Regions from separate parts of the Homo sapiens genome. Here region 2 is linked to region 1. The links are contacts of gene promoters, found by promoter capture Hi-C in human tissues and cell types (Jung and others, 2019). All regions are on one chromosome and are shown on one strand. Each heading gives the region's core, a stretch centred on a gene start or on the middle of the fragment in contact. The rest is flanking DNA. Distances are from core to core; before and after follow the strand shown.

Region 1 (3,748 bases), core at 832-3,331:
CGTCTTCCCACTGCCCGGACCCTCTAAGAGAGACAGTGCAGGGAGAGGACAGCAGGGGTGCCAGGGACAACTGACCCACCTGGGGAGGCGCAGCCTACTGTGAACTATGTCCATCTTAGCATCTTTTCTGCCAGAGAATAAGAGACAGAACTCACAGCATGGGAAGTCTCACTAGGCAGCAAGTCTATGAAACTGAAATGAAGGAAGTTTCAAGTCCACAAGGGGCTCAAAAACACCACTGGAAGTGACCAAAAAGTGAAACAAAACCACAGCTCACCTCGCTATTGTGGCCCCGGAGGTTGAAATTTATCCTCTGTGGAGTACTCCTGTCCCTGCGACAGTGACTAGAGGTGAAAGTCACCCCAACCACTCCTCGCCCGTTGCCCGTGGCCAGCCAGCCTTCCTCATAGTAGCGTCTCCTGCACACAGGCTTCTCCTTCTCACTCTTGGGGACACGCCCCTTCCAGGACAGGCACAGGATGTTGGAATCGCTGCAAAGCACAGGCCCATGTTCCACTGCTGCATACATACTTTCTTCAATGAACTGTTTTACTTAAAAAGTAATGTTAATGCTGTGAAATTTAAACCAATTTCTTTCATTGGTATATGTGTTTTTGTGGTTGGCTTGCGTTGCTTTTTTCCCCCTTTAATTAAGACTGACCTGAATCTAATTAGAAGGTCAGTATTTTATAAAGATCCACCGAATGCATAGTGAAAAAATTCCTCTATAAAAGATGATGGCAGTCTTCTAAGAAAAGGTAATGCTTAAAAAAACATGGGGTCCATTTGTATTTTCAAGTTCTCAGAGGAAGAACGTGCTGATCCTTTGGAGAAAGAGCATCGTTAATTAAGTGGTGATCAAGAAACGGTTTTCTTCTTTTTACTCCACTTGGTTATTCTCATTCAGCCTGAGATTCCAGTTTAGTGTAATATGATTCCAGAGACAAAGGGTTGCAAATACATAGATTTCAAGTAACTTAAGGCTTTAAGAATCCCTCTAGCTCGAATTTTTCTCTTCAAAAGTTCGGATGCAGAGACAGAATACACAGGATCATCTTCCTTCTGAAGCCACCCTCTAGCATGTTTCCTGAACTAGACAAATTTCTGCTGCTAAAGCTGAAAAAGATTGCATAAAGGGAAAAAAAGGCACACAAACCGTGCAAAACAGACCAGAGTTTGTGCAGACAAGAGTCCAAATTTTAGGAAGAAAAACAGACTCTCTCCTTGTTGTTTCAGAACCAGAAACTTTCCACCTCAAAGCTTGGCCCTGTGTCCCCGGGGAACGCAGGGCTCCATCGGACTGCTCCTCCACCAGCCGGCGCACCCCTCAGTGCCATAGAGGCTAGAAAGAAGGCCCCTTCACTCAAGAGGCAGAATGTTCCAGCGCTCTTACAGTGGTCCCAGTGTTTGCCCTGGGTGAGTCTTAAATCCTCTTGCTGACAAAACAGAGCCACGTGGCAAGATTTTGTTTCTTTTGCTCGTCTCCCTTCTCGCTCCCCCAGTTAGCACTCCCCTTTTCTGCTCCTAAAGATCTTTTTCCATCTTGATGAAAAAAGCTAATCTTAGAATTAAGTCCATCAGGTAATCTTCTCATACGCAAGTCTTCTTGGACTTGACAGGGAAGTTAATCCCTTAAAACAAAAGCAGAAGCCAGAGTCAGATTCCCCCAGCTGTCTCCCTAGAGAGTGATAGTGTTTTGCTGATGGGTGCTTTCCTGTTCACATTCAGAGACTGTCTCCAAACACCACACCACTAGTCCAACAAAAAGAAAGCTTTGCTTGGATTTTCCTTGATATTTATTTAATAATTATTGGTTTCAATTGCTATTTTACAATATTATCCTATAGATGCAGGAAAAAAGGGGGGGAATAATAAATTAAAATTTCTCAAATACAGTTAATTAAGATAGGCAAAGGAATCAGTTCATTATTCAAACTTGTCCCATCATACTTGAACTTGCTTTCCTCTAGCCATAACCACAGTAGGAGTTACTTTTCAGTCTAGAATTTTAATCCGTCCAAATCACCAAACCCACTGAAAAATAAAGTGCAACAAACACTGTGTGAGCCGCTGCAATGTTTGAAATCACACTTCTTTCTCAGTCACCTTCTCACTTAGTTCCTTCTTTAAACTGGAGAATATTTTTGTGGTTTAATCTGCGCAAATTTTTTTTTCTTCTTTTTGCAGACTTTCTTTACCCGTGCAGACCATATGGAAAACTGGCCATTAGTGATGTATTTTTCTCCCCGGGCTCCTGAGCCCACTGGTGTCAAGTTGCTCCATCTGATTCTTAAATTAATTTTCATCAGTTGTAAAACTCTCAAGTGTGCACAAGAATGAGCCTGTCTTCCCGTGTGAATGTGTAAGTACAGAAAGAAGGTTTTAAATGCACATAGACACACACTCTTCAACTGCCATACGAAGCGTCTGCTTCCCCAGTCATTTCAGGAACCATCAGATTATTCACGGCTGGGAGGCCCTGGAGTCTTACAAATCTGTTTAAAAAAAAAAAAAGATATAAAATTTAAAAACTTTAAAACACTGGAAAATAAAGGTTTTAAGAATAATTGCTGAAACTGAAATGAGAGACCCATCTTTACACTTACATCAAATGGAGCTACTGACTGCACTGAATGGTAAAATCCAATAGTGAAAGGATACACCTCACCAGACTCAAGACAACACACAACAAATGAGAGTTCTGCCTGCCACTGATCGTTGTATTCAATTTGTCAGCAGCTGGGCACATCTGAATGAAATCATAACTGCCATTCTTCCACACTGAACTGTACTTTCTAAGAGACTGAACTCCGAATGTGAGACTCTACCCCTCCAGAGACCATGGTCGCTGTTTAAGCAGGCATCCTCAAAAAGGAGACTGAAATGACTCAGGCAAGTTATCTGGATTGATTTTTTCACGATTAATAAAAGATATTCCCTCAAGACACAAAGCAGTAAGGGCCTTTAAAACTCATTCGTCCCTGATGGCTGGCAGGTCTCGGAGCAAAGCGCAGCTGTTTTCTAAGCTTTTATGTGGTCTACCAGCAATAAAGTTCTAGAGAATCTGTCTCTAGCAAATCCATTCCATCTTCTTCCTACTGCCTGAAGTCCAGGCTGCATCACATCCTCTACAAACACGAGAACACTCTGTCCCTAACTTACTCATCCTCCCTGCCCTCCCGCCCCGCCAGTCCTTCCAGAAAGCAGAGTGGACTTTCTCAAATTCAGCAGACTCTCTCAGTCTCCTGGGGCAGCTGAAGCGGCCCAGCCCCATCCCACAGGAACTGGACACTGAAAGGGAAGGGAAGGGCCCAGGTGTTCGCATTTCTAATAAGCTCCCAAGAGATGCTAATGCTGCTGGGCAGGGAACCAGGCTTTGAGAACTACTGGCCTGTAGCATCAAGTCCCAGCAAAAGACTCTACTTTCATCATAATACTAGGACATAATTTGCCTTCTTCCGTGTTCACATTTGTACCCATGGTGCAAAATCAACAGTGGGTCAAACTGCAAGCTCTTTAACACTAATCAAGGTAGAGGTACCAACTGCACCAGTAGTCATAGATTAAAAAAAAGAAAGAAAAAAAAAGCCAGCCTCACTTAAGAACATCTTTGATACGGCAGTAAAAATTATTAATTTTATTAAATATCAGCCCTTGAGTACATGGTTTTTAATACCCTTGTGTCCCAAAATAGTAGGTACACATAAAGTACTTCTGTGGACTACTGAAGCACCATGGTAGTCCCAGG
Region 2 (3,625 bases), core at 762-3,261, 320 kb before region 1:
CCTATGGCCTTTCTCCTTTTGTCTCTAGTTCATCCTCTAACCACCAGCCATGAATTCAGTGAACTCTTTTCTCATTCTCTTTGTTTTGTGGCACTTTCACAATGTAGAGGAAAAAACCAAATGACCGCACTGTGATGTGAATGGCACCGAAGTCAGATGAGTATCCCTGTAGGTCACCTGCAGCCTGCGTTGCCACTTGTCTTAACTCTGAATATTTCATTTCAAAGGTGCTAAAATCTGAAATCTGCTAGTGTGAAACTTGCTCTACTCTCTGAAATGATTCAAATACACTAATTTTCCATACTTTATACTTTTGTTAGAATAAATTATTCAAATCTAAAGTCTGTTGTGTTCTTCATAGTCTGCATAGTATCATAAACGATTTCTTCATAGTGAGTGGCTACAGAATCTATACAACCAGACCAGGCGCAGTGGCTCACACCTGTAATCCCACCACTTTGGGAGGCTGAGGCAGGCGGATCATGAGGTCAGGAGATCAAGACCATCCTGTCTAACACGGTGAAACCCCGTCTCTACTAAAAATACCAAAAATTAGCCAGGTGTGGTGGCGGGCGCCTGTAGTCCCAGCTACTCGGGAGGCTGAGGCAGGAGAGTGGCATGAACCCAGGAGGCAGAGGTTGTAGTGAGCCAAGATCGTGAGCCAAGTTCCCGCCACTGCACTCCAGCCTGGGTGACAAGAGCAAGAGTCCGCCTCAAAAAAAAAAAAAAAAAAAAAAAAAAAAAATATATATATATATATATACAACCAAAAAAAAAAAAGTTCTGCTGTGGTCCTCTCCATGATGTACTCATTTTACCCGTGGGACCAGGATCCTGACGGCTCTGCTGGGTTCTGGTTAGATTCCTACCCCTCGGCATCACACCTCCCATTCTTAAGCCCTCCTCTTCTAGAGGTGAAGGGGTGGGAGGTGGGCAAACCAATTTCTATTCTCTTAGCCAGAGAGCTCTAACTCACACTTGGCCCAAAGCTGTAACACCTTAACTGTTAATCCTGTGTTCTCTGTAGGGCTCACAAATTGTCTTAGTACTTCAGAGCTTACAAAATGGTTTTCACAATCATTCATTCTGTGTCTTCAACAATTTGCAGTCATTTAAAAATCTCAGAAAATGTGTTTGGAGGTTATCTGATTGGTTTAAAGTCACACATCCAAGTTGGGAGCTGGGCCCAAACCCACGCCTTGTCTCCATCTTGAGTGCTCTTCCCCAGGCCACATTAGACATGGCAATAAAGATACCTCCGTGCCTGCCTGCTGAAATGGAAAAGCCCTGCCGTTGTCTCCAAAGCCGCTTTATTAAAGCATTTATGTCTGCAAGGCCAAATTAACTCCACACACAAAGAGCAAACAAATCAAGACACATAGAAGTGAATATTAAAAATTTATTAACATTTCCCAGAAAGGTAGTGTCAGAATTAAGCCATTCGCAAAAGACGAATTTGCCATAAACAAACATTCACTTTTGCCTGATGACAGCAACACTGTGATGGGGTGGCACTGTGCCCCACGGACAGGTCCACAACTGAACACATGGCTCTATCTCTCCTTTTGGGCTTAAAGTTTAGTGTTATTTTATTTTACAAATATTTACAGTCATTTTGTAAAAAGGCAGTTTTTAGTAGCAGAAAATTCTTCTGTTTTATAGTATGGTATCACAGTTACTAGCGTATCTCCAATGTCAAACCAAGATAAACAGCATCACAAGATGTCACAGACTAATACAACTTCCCTTTGGCCAGGGGAAAAGATCTGTATCTTTTTTTTTTTTTCTTCAAAAGTCTAACCTCTAAGGCAACCGGTTTCTAAAACCCTCAAAATACACAAATACACTTTCATGTTTTAAGTCTCATCTTCACTAAATGTTCAGACACATCCGTTTTAATTATCCCTTTTATGAGGGTCTGTGTTTTTCCTGTGATAAAGGATTCAGGAAATAATTTACCACATTATAATCTATTTAACATAACTACCCTCAGTAAATAGTTCATAAAATACTTGAGGCTGGTGACATTTGTCTTGTAACCTGCTCATTTAGTGGGTTGGGTTTACAAAATGTATCTAAGCTTTTATTGCAATCTGCAATTATGTACATTAACAACCTTACAAACCTTGAACATAGTATATATATCCCCTTCTCTAGCCTTTCAAATGGGGCTTAAGAGAGAGAAAATGGCACCACTTCACTGCTATAATGATTTAATAATAAATCAAGCAGACTTATCATCCACATGGATAACGAAGCTCTCCCTAGGGAAACTGAAATACCTCTGGTCATCTTCCAGGTTCTCCTAGACTGGACCAGTATTTAAAAAATCCCAAAGATGATGTTACTCAAGCCATTACCATGAAGGAACTAAAGTCAGCCCTTTAAGTTCGCAAAACTTTAACATAACTACCCTCAGTAAATAATTTATTTTTTCTTCAACAATTTTCTTGCTACTGTCAAAAGTTTCTGGCAGACTTTAGTGTTTTAACCTGATACCTATGGTACATATTCTACATGCCAAGTGCTAGAGAGTTTAAGCAAAATTTTACATGGGGTATGTAATATGTCGGTATTTATGATATACCAGGGAAGACAAGTTGAAAATACATGACTTAGTAAGAACGATTTTCCCCTTAAGTACTTTCTAACTTTTTTTCTTATTTCCCACTTAGTTACAAAAAGTAAATAAATAATCCTATATTTTTCATTTCATTGATGCATGAAGACTCAATGTATGAAGATAATAGTCATCAGTTTATAATTACACTATAGGACAAAGTTTTAAAAAGTTCTAGTGTGTGTATGGCTAAATGCCTCAAATATTTTACATTTACTGATAAATAACAGCATTCCAAAATCATGGACAATTATGATTAAAAGTTGTAAACCATATCACAGAATATGTTAATCAGCACATCTTCATCAGTTTACATAAAGTTATAGTAGTCTTATTAGAAGTTGTAAAATTTGGTAACAGAAAATTTTTTTCAATACACAGAATAAAAAAAACATCATTGCAAATTTAAAAATCATGTAAACTTGAATTACCCTTGCAGTAAGTTGTCTTAAACATTCATATTTACAAGGTTTTTAAAACAAATGTGAATAGAATCCATATTAAAAGTACATTATCATTAAAGTTTAAATTAAAAGGAAAGATACAAAGGAAAGTCATAACAAATAGTTTCTCATGAACATCTCTAAGGTCCTACCTAGCACTACTTAACGTGGATGATAACGTGAAGCTCTGCATGGTAATCTGAGAGTCAATGCATAGATGAAGAAAAAAAGTAGGTACTGCTTGCGTTGCGGAACTATCATCTTCTGGACCTCAATTGCCAAGACGGCATCAGTCAGGTTGCCCACAGTTACCAGATGTTAACAGAAGTGTGACTGTAGAGGTCAAGAGGAAAGCACGGGAGACGTCCACATGAGACTCTATATGGAGTCCCTGACTGAAAGGAACGGGGAAGCTCCAGGGCCTTCTATGATGCCACAGATTCAGCAGTGCCAAGGACTTTACAGAACAGGTCGTCCCTACCTGACCGCCATGTGGACACATGGAGGACAGGGAACCCCTTCCGGAAGCACGAGTTGCCTTCTACCCAAATACGTTTTCCAT

The links. The method cuts DNA at HindIII sites, captures the fragments that hold promoters and counts their contacts. A contact is called where the count stands out against the background at its distance.
Region 2: a fragment that was not itself captured here is called in contact with the fragment with the promoter of TULP4 in region 1 in 1 of the 25 tissues and cell types used here (mesendoderm cells).

The regions. Positions count from the first base shown.
Region 1 is chr6:158,310,798-158,314,545 of GRCh38, reverse strand. It overlaps TULP4 (TUB like protein 4), which reads right to left and starts at 2,081. Exons shown (of 14, transcript NM_020245.5): 1 at 278-2,081. The coding sequence starts at 529. RefSeq lists an enhancer at 378-457. The HindIII fragment of the contact is 2,154 bases long and covers 1,517-3,670 here.
Region 2 is chr6:158,633,190-158,636,814 of GRCh38, reverse strand. TMEM181 (transmembrane protein 181) reads right to left here. Exons shown (of 17, transcript NM_001376852.1): 17 at 1,386-3,625. It overlaps DYNLT1 (dynein light chain Tctex-type 1), which reads left to right. Exons shown (of 5, transcript NM_006519.4): 5 at 1-341. Among named protein-coding and RNA genes, the nearest start is that of DYNLT1, 9.7 kb to the left of the region's middle. The HindIII fragment of the contact is 3,978 bases long and covers 23-3,625 here.